Regions from separate parts of the Homo sapiens genome. Here region 2 is linked to region 1. The links are contacts of gene promoters, found by promoter capture Hi-C in human tissues and cell types (Jung and others, 2019). All regions are on one chromosome and are shown on one strand. The core of a region is centred on a gene start or on the middle of the fragment in contact, and the rest is flanking DNA. Distances in the headings are between cores, read along the strand shown.

Region 1 (7,602 bases), core at 3,187-5,686:
GCCCACTAGGAAGCTACTTGCATGAAGTCAAGGTGTCTGCAGGGCAGGGTGAGGGGGCCCAAGCATGCTACCATCTCTGGCCACCTGAGCTTTGGAAGGCAGCGGGAGGGGTGGGGGCAGGGTGTTCTTAAATGCGGATCTTAGGGCATGGAAATGCCATACTGTTGGCTATTGAAACCCGTGCTGCAGATTCAGTCCTAAAAGCAGGCTGGACAGGTAGACATGCATCTGTCAGTGGTGGAAAGAGGCCCCAGGTTAGAGAATCGGCTTGCTTCAGCATTCGTGGTGGAGCTGCTGGGGAGTAGGGAACAGGGTCGAGGCGGGTGCTTTGATGCATCTGCTCAGATTTCCGTCTGGGCCCAGCTCCACCTCCTGCTGCTGGAGTTGGCAAGTAGACCCTGCCACTGAGCAGCCACGTGACTTTGGCGATTGTTCTCTCTGCCTCGATTTTTCTGTGTCTAAAATGCAGCAGTATGTCCTCATAGGGTGATTGGGAGGATTAAGTGAGATAACACAGTGCCTGATCCATAGTAAATGCCCAGCAAATGCCTCCCTTGTTATTCCTGTCATCACCACTCCTCTGCCCCCACCTATAGCCCTAACATTTTGTTTCTGTTTCCTGCCCGTGTTGTGTATTTGTACTCCTCTTTCCCCTATAGTGTCCCACGTCAGCGTCCCTGCTTTCCCTCAGAGGCCCACTCCTCCAGGCTGGGTGCCCCAGCAGTCCCTGACCTCCAGGCCTGACTCTGTCTCTGCCAAGCTGTGTGACCGTGGACAATTTGTCCAATCTCTCTGAGCTAAAACTAAATCAGCCTGTCTCAGCCCACTAGTAGAAGAGGCAGCAGGGGTACCAAGATTCCACACTGGCCATGTTAGTTCCAGCTTCTGCCTACTCTGGCTGATGACTTTGGACAAGTTGCAGCTCCTCCCTGAGCCTGAGTCTCCTCTGGAGCGGGGGCTCCACCACCCCAGCCCCCTGCCCTGTTGGAGCATGATCAGGTTAGTGGTGGTATTGTGCTGGTGCCTGTCCTCTGCCCTCCCAGGCCCTTTGCACACTGTGACTCGCCGCTCTCCGTGCCTGTACATGCAGTTGGGCCGCCTGATTCTTTGTGCCTGTGATTATCTGTGCTCGCATCTATTTCCCCCTTCAAGGGCAAAGACTGTGTATGAGTCACCTCTGTGACCCTAGTCTAGCACACAGGAGGGCTCGGGCACGGGACACATGTCCGAAGGACTGGGGTGTTTTCCTGGGATCAAACACCCCATGGTGGGATTTACAGGAAACTTTTTTTGTGGTAGTTAATCCAGTTGGTGCCAGGACGAGGACTCTTTCTCAGGGACCTACAGACAGGCTTTAGCACCCATTCTGACTCCCGGAAGAGCACGCGAAGCTGGCCCCCAGCTGGCACTCGGTAACCAGCCTTCAGTGCGTCAGCGGGAGTGCGTGTGCACTTGTTTCTGGGAGCGAGTACTGGGGCTCTGCGAACCTTCACAGGCATCCGACTCCAAGAGGATTAAGAACCGTGGGGCCAAATGCCCTGTGTTGGACGGACTGCAGCTGGAGCAGTCACTGAGCACGGAGGCCAGAAACCTGTTTTTACAAAAGCTCCCCAGGTGGTTCTGACAACCTCGCTTGGCTGTCTGTGTGCTTTGCTCCGCCATCCATCACTCAGTCCCAAGCCTGCCTTCAGACCTCAGTTCAGGGGTGGCTGGCATTGACCTCAAAGCCTTTTTTGGAGCAAATTAACAGGTGAGCATTGAAATACTGCAGAAATTCAAGCTGAGCCGGCCACCTGCTGCAGTAGGGCATGGGGGCAGGTGGGTTAAATTCTTGCCTTCTGGCTGACCTTAGTCATCACCAGTCATTGCCTTCCATGTGCCTGTACCAGGCACTGGTCTCAGTGCCTTTTGTGTATTATCGCATTTAGATATCACAGCCACCCCAGGAGGTAGGTGCCGTTTGCCCCAATTTGTAGATGAGGAAATGGAGCCCATAGAGGTAAAGTAATTTTCCTGAGGTCACACAGTGGGTAAGTGGTGGAGCTGGGATTCAAATCCAGGCAGCCAGCCTGGCGCCGAAGCCTGCGCAGTAATAACCCCTGTGCGGCGGCTGAGTGCTTGGACGCATTCGGTGCAACGTGCCATACGGTCTCTTCATCTATAACCCAGAATCGTTTATAAAATAGAGGCAACAGTGCTGGCTTTGCGGTGTTGTGGCAGGGAGGAGAAACAGAAACAGGTGGGGTAAGGGCCCAGCCTTGGTGGGCACGCAGGAGGGGGTCACTGTGGTTCGTGGACAGCTTGAGTCCCTGGAGATTTGTGCTGCTCCTCTGTCCTCAGCATTGCCTGCTGTTCTGACCCTTGGCCTCTGGGACGTGTTCTTCCTGTGCTACTCAGTGTCTGGTATGTGATAGGCGCTCAATATATTCTTGCTGCGTGAGTGACTTGGTGACCCCGTAACCAGTCATGCATTCAGCATGGTGTGGCCGTGCCACGTGTTACGAGTCAGGGCAGAAGACAGGCCCAGTCCATGCTTCTGTGGGGGTCACAGTCAAGTGAGGGAGACACACAGTAAAGAATTCTCAGCAAACCAGGCTTCTGAGGACTCAGATTAGGGAGGGTCCACAGGGTGTGCAGGAGGGCAGGGCAGAGGCAGCTTCCTAGAAAGGACGTCACCAAGGAAATCCAGCAGTAAGCCAGGTGAGGAGCAGTGGGAGGAGTGCACCAGGGGTGGAAGGCAGAGAGAACCAGCCTGGTATGTCTGAAGAACAGAAAAAAGCCAGACTTAGTTGAGGTAGAGGCAGGCTGGTCAGAGGTGAGGCTGGAGGAGGCAGGAGAGACTGCTGTGTGGGGCCTTATGGGCTGTGCTAGCAGGGAGCCCCAGAGGGCTTAAGAAGGGGCCTGGGCTGGGCATGGGGGGCTCACGCCTGTCATCCCAGCACTTCAGGAGCTCCAGGCGGGAAGATCACTTAAGCCCAGGAGTTTAAGACCAGCCTTGGCAACATGACGAGACCTTGTCTCTACAAAAAATACAAAAATCAGCCGGGCATGGTGGCATGTGCCTATAGTCCCAGCTACTCAGGAGGCTGAGGTGGAAGGATCACTTGAGTCCAGGAGGTCGAGGCTTTAGTGAGCTGTGATCACACCACTGCCCTCCAGCCTATGTGACAGAGTGAGACCCTGTCTCAAAAGAAAAAGGAGGGGCATGGTGGGTGTTTTTAACAGAATCCTGTGTGGAGGTGACATGAATAGGGTGAGACTGAGACAGGGAGGCCAGGGAGGGGCCGTGAGCCAGGAGCCCGGAGGCTGTAGGCTTGGCGTAGCCTCATATTGGCTGATAGCTGACACTTGACTTCATTGACTTCTTCATCAGATTCCTCTGAGTCCTCCCCTCCACCAGCAGGTTTGCCGATGCCACTGTTTCCCATAGCACCTCTGAGGTGACTGTTATTCCCCTTCCCTTCTCTCCTTGGATCTGAGTCCCTTCCCTCGTGCTCCCCCAGCCAGCGTGTCCTTGGCCTGCTTGGGACATCCTGCCCCTGCATGGGCTGTGGGAGGCGTGTGGGCTGTGAAGTCCGGTGACCTCTCCAGTGACTTCACCTCCACAGTCCCTTCAGGTCTCACAGTACCCAGATCCAGAAAACTCTACAGACCATCCCAAACCCCTCTGGTGGCTTAGCGCAATATCGGTGTCTGATCAGTCTTATAAAATCCAGAAAATTCTGATTCTAAAACACGTCTGGCCCAAGGGTTCCAGGAGGAGACTCTGGAGCCCGCAGCGGGCCTCGTTCCATGTTTGTGAAATGGCAGTAACCTGAGAGGCAGCACGGGAGCCCCCTGGGTGCCAGTCCCAGCTCTGCCCTTGGGCAAATCACCCAGCTTCTTTGCCTCAGTGTCCCCATTTGTATGGGGATTGAGGATTAAATTAGCCTCTACTTGGAAAGCAGCTGGAACAGTAGCTGGCTGTTGCAGGCGCTCATGAGGACATGGGAAAGTTGAGTGAGGTGGTCACTGCCTTGAACTTGACTGGTTCCTGCCTCCCCCGGCTGTAAGGGTTAGGCAGGTGGGGCTAGATGACCAGCGGGTAGGATCATCTGCCTGAGTGTGATTTCGGCTCCTCCACACTTGGGCTGTGTGGCCTTGGGCAAGTCCCTTGACCTCCCTGGACCACTTTCCCCATTTGTGAAGCCATTTTGCCAGATGAGGACTCTCTCAAAGTTTTTAGACTCTCTGGGAAGACCAGAGAGCCAGGCCTGGGGCCCACGCCAGCAGGAGCACACCCTGCATCAAGTGTGGAGCTGATGCCGCTCCTGTTACATAGCCGCCACAGCACCTCCAGGGCTGAGCCCACGTCAGGCTCCTGGGCTGGAGCCACACAGGAGGCTGGGGTCTGCTGTTTCAGCTAAGAGGAGGTGGGAGATGTGGAGGGGCTTCCCTAATTGCAAGAAGGTGGTTCAGAGGCTGGGTGCCAAAAGGAATTCGAGAGATCCGTCATGCTTGGCTATGTTTCGTACATTAAGTAGGAAGGTCCATGAAGGCAGGACCCATCTTTGTCTTGGCTCACCTGTGTCCCCAGCACCCTCCATGGTGCCTGGCCCTCCGCAGGGTCTCACACTGGATGAATTGGTGGTGGATGGAGGTACACAGTAGGCACTCAGAAGTTGTTCTCACCCCTTCCCTTCCTCTAGGCAGCTGGTACTGAGCGGTTGCCTCAAGGTGGGGGTGGAGGTTTGGAAGTGTCTGCTGACATCCGCACAGCTCATGTGACTTGCCCAGCGCCCATCTCACTTCGCAGCGGAAGCCTGGGTCGGGAGCCCTGCAGTCGGATGCTCCCCTCAGGGCTGGTTGGGTTCCAGCTGGGAATGTGTTCCCTGGTTAGGTGGGCGGGCTCCTCTAGCAAGCTGGCGCTTGGGACCCGCCGGGGTCGGACTCGTGTGCCACCTTCACACCCACCCCTCCCTCTCTCCACGGTCTCCGAGGCTCTCACCAGCTGCTGTCAGCGATGTAGTGGAGAACTGCTCGCGTCCTGTGCAGTCTTCCCTTTTGCAAAGCAAAGCACTGTCACAGCTGAACTCGCTTGGTTCCCCAGGACAACAGGGAGGGAGGGTGGGAGAGTGGGGCTGCCAAAAGGTGAAAGCGAGCCGCAGGGAAGTGACTCTCTGCAGGGGTCATGCCTCCTGGTGGTGGTGATGGAGGTGATGGTACTCAAAGCTCCCATTTATGGAGCGCTTAACAGGGCTAAGCTCTTTACATGCATCGTTAATCTTGGAGGAGGAAACAGGCTCACAGAGGTGCCAAGGCCACACAGGTAGTAGAGGAGGAGCTGAGTTATAGCCCGGCAGCTTGAATGGTTCTGATCCTCTGTCCTGTTTCAGAAAGCCCCCAGGGCTCCACTGTAACTACAGGACAAAGTCCACACCCGTGGGCCTGGTGTGGGAGGCCTTTCCCACAGAACGCCCAGCCTCCTAGACACAGGCGCCTCTGCCTAGCACGCCCCTCGCTAGTCCCCTGCCCTTCCTGACCAATTCCCGTTACCCCTCCCACGCCTAGACGCAGGCGCCTTTGCCCAGCACACCCCTCGATAGTCCCCTGCCCTTCCTGACCAACTCCCCCTCCCGTGCTGCCTTCTGGGCAAGGCCTTCTCTAATCCCCGGACAAAGCTCTGCTCCGCTCGTCTGGGTTCCCATGGCGCCTCCTCGCTCTGTTGTTATTTGTTCGGGCCCATCTCCCCTCCCTGGACCAGTGCTGCAGAGGGCTGCATCCTGTCCATCTGGCTCCTGGGAGGGGTGGAACCACTGAACGCCTCCAGGAACCTTAAGGACTCCGGGCAAAGTGGGGTTGCTTATGAGCACCCAGGCCGGGTGCCGCAAAGCCTTTGTAACCCAGGCACTGGGGCTCAGGACAGTCAGGGAGCATGGGGTGTGGGGAAGGAAGATTTCGTTCACTGAGTCCTTTTTTCCTGCATTCATTCCTTCATTCCTTGCCAACCAGCGCCTGTTTTGCCTCCACTTTGCTGTCCCTGCCATGCCAGGTGGAGGGGCCTCCCAATGGCTCTCCTGCTCCCTCTCCAACCCGCTCCCCACCTAGCAGCCACAGCATTCTTGAAAAAGCAGACTTTGCTATTCCTGTTTCACATCACACTTGTGACCTCCCTGCTGCCTTTCCCTCTGATCTAGTGTCCCTGCAACAGGTTAGGAAGCCCAGGTATAACCTGGCTCTTGCCACCATCGCCGGCCACGACCGAGATCACCTTGCCATGCTCTTGCTGGGTTCAAGCCATCGTGGCTTCCTTTCAGTCCTAGAACACGCAGGCAGCTCCCCACATCCTGTCCTGGAAGACCGGCCCCACCTACGCACACAGGTGGCTCTCACTAATCTTTCAGGTGCCAGCAAACCCTTCCTTCCTGGCCCTCCTAATGGGCTCCCCGTCAGGTGGCCAGCGATCTGCTTATCTGCGGGCCTGCTGATACTCTTGCCCTGGACTGGAAGCATCACTAGGCAGTGGTGGGTTGGGTTTGGTGCCACTGTATTCCCCAGTGCCCCAGACCACGTGGCACTGGGCCTGGCTCTGGGCAGGAGCGCAATATGGCAGGTGGAGAAGGAAGTGGCATGCAATGCTGGGTCTTAGTCCTTGCCATGAGCAGCTCAGACAGTCCCTACCCTAGCATAGTCCCTGGTCCAGAAAAGGAAGTGGGCAGAGAGGAGGAGGAGCTTTAGGGAGGGGAGTACAAAGCCTGCCTCTGGTATCCCCCCGCCAGCCTGGTGAGAATGGCAGCGCAGGACTGGCAAACAGGCCCGTCTTTGCTGTTGACTTGCTGGGGGTCATAGGCCAGGATGCTTGCCCTCTCTGTGGGGCAGGATGGTGCCCGGGGTCCTTTCCCACTGCGCGTCAGTGTTTCCCATCTCTCCATGTAGGACACCGCACCATTTAGGGAGTGATTGGATCCCAGGACCTCCTCCCTGTCACGGGGTGGCAGGCAAGGTTCTGATAATTGATCTGCCGTGTACCTTTGTGGCAGGTGACCTAATTCCCCATTCCCTGTGACCCATGTGTCACAGGTGTCAGGGGCGACCGGCCACCCAGCCAAGCTTCCATGACTCCGTTCTCACTCTGTGTTCTGTAATCCCCTTCTGTCACGGGCTTGGGATCCTTGATTCCCGGCCCGGTTCTGCCTACTATGATCACAATGAACAGTCAGTGTTCCGTTTCCCTGGAGGGCTGCCTTCCTTGCTGTGCCTGGACCTGTGTTCCCTGCTGGACAAGTCCCAGGGGGTCAGGCCCGGGGCTTTCTCGGTCCCTGCTGTGTCTCCTGCACAGCTCCAGGCACAGAGCAGGTGTTCAGTAAATGTTGTTCCATTAAAATGGAGTTGGGGCTGTTGCTGGCAGAGCCCAGGGACAGCGCCCTCATGGAGCCTGGCTTAGAGTGCCCAAGTCTGACAGTGGCCTGATCCTGTCTGGTCCTGGGGTGGAGCAGACACCAACAGGCGGGGCCATCTGACTGAATGTCCTCCCACCAGCTGTTAGGTCCAGGTGTTTGTGCTTACTGCCTTCCAGTGCAGTCAAAAGAATCCAGGGCTGGCACCAGCCCCTTCCTCATCTCA
Region 2 (7,602 bases), core at 3,342-5,841, 210 kb before region 1:
AGTGAGCTAAGATCACACCACTGCACTCCAGCCTGGGCAACAGAGCAAGATTCCGTCTCAAAAAAATAAATAAAACCAAATAAATAAAATCACCTGGGCCGGGCATGGTGGCTCTGGTCTATAATCCCAGTACTTTGGGAGGCCAAGGTAGCTGGACCCCTTGAGCCTAGGAGCTCGAGACCAGCGTGGGCAACATGGGCTACCCAGCAACATTTTGCGTCTACAAAAATACTGAATTTACCTGGATGTGGTGGCAAATGCCTGTAGGCTGAGGTGGGCGGATTGCTTAAGCCCAGGTGGTTGGGGCTGTGCCACTACACTCCAGCCTGGGCATCAGGGTGAGACCCTATCTCAAAAAAAAAAAAAAAGAGGAAAAGTCATTAGGTCAATGAAAATTGATTATCTGGTCAGGCATGGTGGCTCACACCTGTAATCCCAGCACTTTGGGAGGCTGAGACGGGCAGATCACCTGACGTCAGGAGTTCCAGACCACCCTGGCTAACAAGGTGAAACCCCTTCTCTACTAAAAACAAAAATAAGCCAGGCATGGGTGACATGCTCCTGTAATCCCAGCTATTCAGGAGGCTGAAGCAGGAGAATCGCTTGGACCCAGGAGGCAGAAGTTGCAATGAGCTGAGACCACGCCACTGCACTCCAGCCTAGGCAACAGAGCAAGACTCCGTCTCAAAAAAGAAAAAGGCCGGGTGCGGTTGCTCACGCCTGTAATCCCAGCACTTTGGGAGGCCAAGGCAGGTGGATCACCTGAGGTCAGGAGTTCCAAGACCAGCCTGGCCAACATGGTGAAACCCTGTCTCTACTAAAAATTACAAAAATTAGCTGGGCGTGGTGGCGGGCGCCTGTAATCCCAGCTACTTGGGAGGCTGAGGCAGGAGAATCGCTTGGACCCGGGAGGCAGAGGTTGCAGTGAGCCCAGATTGCACCATTGCACAACAGCCTGGGAGACAAGAGCAAAACTCCGTCTCAACAACAAAAAAAAACAGAATGAAAGAAAATTGATTATCTACATTTGCTGGATACTGTGCCTGAAGCTGGGACAAGACAAATCAAGTCACTCCCCTCAGTGGTCTACTGGAGGTCAGGGGTCAGACACTGAGGTTGCGCTCAAGGTTCAAAGGACTGTTTAGAGCCCAAGGTTAAGTATTTGAGGTCAAGACTGAGGTGAAAGGTTCATGGGGAAAGATTTGCAGAGATCGAGTGTCAAAAGTGAGTCCCAGGATTAACAGGGTGAGTTGCACGAGCTGGGCTTTGGGTTAAGGAAGGGCTGAATGAATGTCCCAGTGCAATATGGCCTCAGGGGACAAGGAGTGAGGTGGCATCTTGTTGGCATGGGGAGAGAGCGGTCAGGATTTTGGGGTCAAGAGCAGATTGGTAATCTGTGTCGTGCGTAGGAAGTGATCTTGAGTTCCTGTCCTCTCTCTACCTCCAGGAAATGCCTCGATACCATGAGCTGCCCACCTTGGAAGAACGGTCAGGACCCTTGCACCCTGGAGCCACAAGCCTGGGGTCCCCCATCCCGGTGCCTCCAGGGCCACCTGCTGTGGAAGACGTTTCCCTGGATCTAGAGGATGAGGAGGGGGAGGAGGAGGAAGAGTATCTGGACAAGATCAACCCCATCTATGATGCTCTGTCCTATAGCAGCCCCTCTGATTCCTACCAGGGCAAAGGCTTTGTCATGTCCCGGGCCATGTATGTGTGAGCTGCCATGCGCCTGGCGTCTCACATCTCACCTGTTGATCCCTTAGCTTTCTTGCCAAGGATCTAGTGCCCCCTGACCTCTGGCCAGGCCACTGTCAGTTAACACATATGCATTCCATTTGTGATGTCTACCTTGGTGGCTCCACTATGACCCCTAACCCATGAGCCCAGAGAAATTCACCGTGATAATGGAATCCTGGCAACCTTATCTCATGAGGCAGGAGGTGGGGAAGGTGCTTCTGCACAACCTCTGATCCCAAGGACTCCTCTCCCAGACTGTGACCTTAGACCATACCTCTCACCCCCCAATGCCTCGACTCCCCCAAAATCACAAAGAAGACCCTAGACCTATAATTTGTCTTCAGGTAGTAAATTCCCAATAGGTCTGCTGGAGTGGGCGCTGAGGGCTCCCTGCTGCTCAGACCTGAGCCCTCCAGGCAGCAGGGTCCCACTTACCCCCTCCCCACCCTGTTCCCCAAAGGTGGGAAAGAGGGGATTCCCCAGCCCAAGGCAGGGTTTTCCCAGCACCCTCCTGTAAGCAGAAGTCTCAGGGTCCAGACCCTTCCCTGAGCCCCCACCCCCACCCCAATTCCTGCCTACCAAGCAAGCAGCCCCAGCCTAGGGTCAGACAGGGTGAGCCTCATACAGACTGTGCCTTGATGGCCCCAGCCTTGGGAGAAGAATTTACTGTTAACCTGGAAGACTACTGAATCATTTTACCCTTGCCCAGTGGAATAGGACCTAAACATCCCCCTTCCGGGGAAAGTGGGTCATCTGAATTGGGGGTAGCAATTGATACTGTTTTGTAAACTACATTTCCTACAAAATATGAATTTATACTTTGACCAGGTCTTGCCTTTTCTGTGGGATGTGAAGGGGATGGGGTGAGACATGAAGGGGAATGAGGAAGGAGTCTAAGGGCTTGAGAGAATCAGTGAACTGGGGTCAAGAGAGTTAAAGACAAAAACAAAGGGACCAAAGATACAAAATAAGAATTGAGAGAGTAATGAGCAAAAATGTATCAATCAAAAACAAAATTTTTTTTTTTTTTGAGGCGGAGTCTCGCTCTGTCGCCCAGGCTGGAGTGCAGTGGCATGATCTCGGCTCACTGCAAGCTCCACCTTCTGAGTTAACGCCATTCCTCTGCCTCAGCCTCCCGAGTAGCTGGGACTACAGGCGCCCACCACCACGCCCGGCTTATTTTTTGTATTTTTAGTAGAGACGGGGTTTCACCGCGTTAGCCAAGATGGTCTCGATCTCCTGACCTCGTGATCCACCCGTCTCGGCCTCCCAAAGTGCTGGGATTACAGGCGTGAGCCACTGCGCCCAGCCCTAAAAACAGAATGTTGAGTAATGGAATGGGGAGGGGTCCAGGGCATGCTGTTTAATGAACATTCATAATTGCAACAGCAGTATGATGAATGGGACAAAGATAAAAATAGCAATTGGCCAGATGCAGTGGCTCATTCCTGTAATTCCAGCACTTCGGGAAACTGAGGCGGGAAGCTCGACTGAGTCCAGGAGTTAAGAGACCAGCCTGGGAAACACAGTGAGACCCCGCCTCTACGAAAGTTAGCCGGGCGTGGTGGCACGCACCTGTAGTTCAGCTACTCTGGAGGCTGAGGTAGGAGGATCGATTGAGGCCAGAAGTTCAAGGCTGCAGTAAGCTATGATGGCGCCACTGCACTCCAGCCTGAGTGACAGAGTCCAACCTTGTCTTTAAAAAAATAAAAATTAAAAAAGCAGTAACGAAAGTATAAGAGGCTCAAGTTTAATGAATAAACGGCAAGTAAAAGTAGACTAAAGGCAAAATCATGAATAATGTTGTAATAGGAGCCCAAGGCATGACGGATAATAAACCTGAATGAATGGGCCAGAGGCAGAGTGATGAATAATGGAAAAATAGGGACCGGGGGCAAGGGAGGTAACGGACAGGAGTTCATGGATCCAAAACATGATGGCTAATTAGAGAAGGGCCGGAAGAACGACGAAAGTGAGCAGGCAGGCTGGAGCTAAAAGTAGTCTGGGCAATGAAGCTCAAATGAATGGGGCAGAGGCATGATGGGTAATGGGAGAGGAATGAATGGGCCAAAGATAGAAGCCGCAGTGACGCGAGGAACAAGAGGCATGATGGGTAACGAAAGGGGTGGGTCTAAGGCAACTGTTTCGCTAAGAGGTGATGAGGGCATTGTGGGTAACGAGGAGCAGCGCAGGGTTCGCAGAACAGATTAGAATTCTCCCGAGGCACTCTGGGAAGGGCCAGCACTTCCGGTTTTAGGTCGGCTACTCCGAACCAGAGGTGGGGTGGGGGCCCGGCTGCCGCGGTGCCTGGTGGGACGCGAGGCCTGACCTTGCTGCCTAGCCGCCTCTGCCGCGCAACCCACCTTTACCTGTCCTTCGACCCTGGAACGTTAGCCAATGAGAGTACCAAGCTGATACGCCACCAAGGTCGACCCCGTACACGCTGGAGCCAATCAAAATGCTGCAAGGGTCAAAGCCGACCAATTATCACAGCAACCTCGCCGCGGGGCGGAATCAAAAGAGGGCCTCCTCCAGGAGAGAGGCGGGGCGATGCCTCAGCGGGCGTGGCAAAATGCTCAGCACAGACCAATGGCGGGTTAGCACCGGAACCCGCGGCGACGCGAGCCAATAGGCGCAGGCGCTGCGAGCCAATGGGAAGGGTGGGAGGGGCGCCGTGGCTACCCTGCGAGTGAGAACCAATACAAAAGGACATTTCAGGGAAAGTGGGCGGGACTTTATGCACAAGTCCAATGGGAAGACCGAGTCTTGACGCTGGTGGGCGGGCCTCAGGGCACACTAAACCAATGGGCTAGGTGGGGCGGGGCGACGGTGGTGGCGGCGGCGGCAGCGGGTTCGGTTGCGCGTGGCGCACGGGGTGGGAGCGGAGCCCAGGCCGGGAGCAGGCGCCGCCGCCAGTGAGAACCGGGGCCGGAGCCGGGTGCGGATTTGCTGGGGCTGAGTCGGGGGCGCGCGGGCCCTGACCTCTGCCCTCTGACCTCTCCCCTAGCAGGCGACCATGGGGAACGTGTTGGCTGCCAGCTCGCCGCCCGCAGGGCCGCCACCGCCGCCTGCGCCGGCCCTCGTGGGGCTGCCGCCACCTCCGCCCTCGCCGCCGGGCTTCACGCTGCCGCCGCTGGGAGGCAGCCTGGGCGCCGGCACCAGTACGAGTCGAAGTTCGGAACGGACCCCCGGGGCTGCAACCGCCAGCGCCTCAGGGGCCGCCGAGGATGGGGCCTGCGGCTGCCTGCCCAACCCGGGCACATTCGAGGAGTGCCACCGGAAGTGCAAGGGTGAGGGGCGAGGGGCCCCCGCTGGGCTGCGATGGCCTGGATCTCGGGGGAAGGGGGAGGACACTGGGGACTCTGGGATTTGGCGCGCACCATTGGAATTATTTAACAGCACTAGGAGGTGATGTTGGGATCGAATGGTGGAACGTTGGACTTGGGGCTTAGAATGATGGAATCAAATGCTGGAAACGGGATGGAATGTCATAGCAGTAGAGAAAAGCCTTTAGGGACCTGAGGAGCCCCGGGATCAGCCAAGCCAGACTTCTCTTGTGATCGGGAAGGCAACTGAGGCCCAAGGTCACGGTGTCAGCAAGGTGTCAGCGAGGTTCCTTGGGTATGGGACCCAAAGCCTCCGGATCCCAGCCTGGAGCAATTAGAGTAGTAGTAGTGGTGGAGATTTATGGAGTTCTGTTCTGGTGTTCATTATACGTTAACTCATTAGATCCTTGGGACAATTCTGTGTGGTGAGGGTCCCATCTTTCAGATGATGAGTTTGACCTAAAGTTGCTCAGCTTGGTGGCAGTGAGATTTGAGCAAGCAAAGGCCCTGGCCCTGTCTAACTAGGCTGTACTGCCTCTTTACAGGTGGAATCCTTTGTGAGATGTTCTGCTGTGGGTCTCTGGAGAGAGCTGGGGGTGGTAGGGAAGGAAGAGATGAGAGTTGGTGTGGGGTTGGAGTGGAGTGTGACAGCGTTTCTCTTCTCCAGAGCTGTTTCCCATTCAGATGGAGGGTGTCAAGCTCACAGTCAACAAAGGGTTGAGTAACCATTTTCAGGTGAGCCTTCCTGGTGTCCTTACCCACCAGAGATCGTCCCCGCCGTCCCCCTCCCTGCATCTGCACACTCGGCCCAATTACTCCTCCCTCAAGAGCTGGGCTCCCTGATACTTGAAAAGACTCGGAGATATAGTGCCAGACTGACTACTCAGTTTGGGGACCTAGAATCCAGAGGTACTGTCTCCCCATAGCAGCTAGGCTGGAGTGAAGGAACAGGTCTGTGGGCCTACCGGCAGCACCTCCTTTCTCTGAGTCTCTTAGTCAGGCCGTGCCTCCCAGTCTTCATCCCCTGCCCAGCCCAGAGACCTTGTCCTTGCCCTCTTCAGTGGGCAAGCCTATCTGTCCAGTATCGTCACAGCTCTCGCTTTCCTTCCAGGTCAACCACACAGTAGCCCTCAGCACAATCGGGGAGTCCAACTACCACTTCGGGGTCACATATGTGGGGACAAAGCAGCTGAGTCCCACAGAGGTGAGCTTCCTTTTTCATCCATTCATTGTATCCTTCTAATAACAAATTTGTAGCCAAATGTCAAGCTAAGACGGCCTCATCAGGAAAAGGTCACAGCTACCGAGAGCCTGGAGATGGGGATTGCATCTCTCCGAGGTGCACTGGGACACAAATAATTCCTTCATCCAGCAAACATCCGCCAAACCCCTGCTCTCTGCCTGGCCCCATGCTGAGCAGTGCTGGGGATGTGGCCACAGCCACCCTGTCACCAGACAGCGATGACCCAGGGTGGAAAGGGCTGGACTGTAGATCATGCAGAACTTTGAATGCCAGACTAGGCTTTGGACTTTCTCTAGGGGGTTGTGGAGAGTCATGGCATGGTTTGGTCAAGGGAAAGACGTGGTCCACAGGTTCCCGCTGTAGAAATCTCTGGGGCATCTCTGGGGTGGCCATGTGGGGGCTAGTTATTAGGAAGGGCAAAACTGGAGGCCCAGACAGGGTTGGGGGGACTGAATGAGGTCTCTGCTTCTGTCATTTCCCTTCAGCAAATGTGTTTATTCTGCAAACCTTCATTGCACAACACATTCTGTGCCCAGCCCTGTGCTGGCACACATGACTGAAACAGCATGGGACTCACCCGTGGGGCAGGGGACAGACTGTTCCCAGAGAGTAACAAGCCAGGATGGGCAAGGCTGACATGGGGGAACCCAAAGGTCGGGGAGCCTAACTCAGCTTAGGTGGTCAGAGAGCACTTCGTGGAGGAGGGGACCCCCATCCGAGGCTTTCTGACCCTAGGCTTCTCACCCCGGCCCATCTCACATACTTGCACAGTGCACCACCTCTGACCCCTTCCGTTCTCTCTGCCTCACAGGCGTTCCCTGTACTGGTGGGTGACATGGACAACAGTGGCAGTCTCAACGCTCAGGTCATTCACCAGCTGGGCCCCGGTCTCAGGTCCAAGATGGCCATCCAGGTGAGTGGGGCACGGAGGCTGCTGCTCCCCTCGGCCACCGTGAGCAGGGAGCCGCCCTCACACCCCCTCCTCTCCACAGACCCAGCAGTCGAAGTTTGTGAACTGGCAGGTGGACGGGGAGTATCGGGGCTCTGACTTCACAGCAGCCGTCACCCTGGGGAACCCAGACGTCCTCGTGGGTTCAGGTAAGAGGCGGAGGGCTTGGAGGGTGGTCACAAAACTGCAGTTCTGGCTTTGCCAGCAAATCCACCCCATTTGTGAACCTCCTTTTCTGCCACTGGAGAAGTGGCTCAGCAGGAGTGATTTTGAAACATCAGGCAACATACTACAGTGGGTGAGACGGTCACCCACTGACCATGAGTGGGTGAGTCAGAGCAGTCTTT

What was found. The method cuts DNA at HindIII sites, captures the fragments that hold promoters and counts their contacts. A contact is called where the count stands out against the background at its distance.
Region 2: a contact is called between the fragment with the promoter of TOMM40 here and a fragment that was not itself captured in region 1, in 1 of the 25 tissues and cell types used here (spleen).

The regions. Positions count from the first base shown.
Region 1 is chr19:45,098,531-45,106,132 of GRCh38, forward strand. The region is part of intron 1 of PPP1R37 (protein phosphatase 1 regulatory subunit 37); the gene reads left to right. Among named protein-coding and RNA genes, the nearest start is that of PPP1R37, 9.2 kb to the left of the region's middle. RefSeq lists enhancers at 1-196, 1,375-1,962, 6,675-7,264. The HindIII fragment of the contact is 9,683 bases long and covers 1-7,602 here.
Region 2 is chr19:44,886,663-44,894,264 of GRCh38, forward strand. It overlaps TOMM40 (translocase of outer mitochondrial membrane 40), which reads left to right and starts at 4,592. Exons shown (of 9, transcript NM_001128917.2): 1 at 4,592-5,027; 2 at 5,731-5,798; 3 at 6,175-6,267; 4 at 7,118-7,219; 5 at 7,299-7,404. The coding sequence starts at 4,754. NECTIN2 (nectin cell adhesion molecule 2) reads left to right here. Exons shown (of 9, transcript NM_001042724.2): 9 at 1,448-2,561. The coding sequence ends at 1,717. RefSeq lists enhancers at 3,148-3,649, 3,819-3,978 and a silencer at 4,289-4,928. The HindIII fragment of the contact is 8,270 bases long and covers 1,308-7,602 here.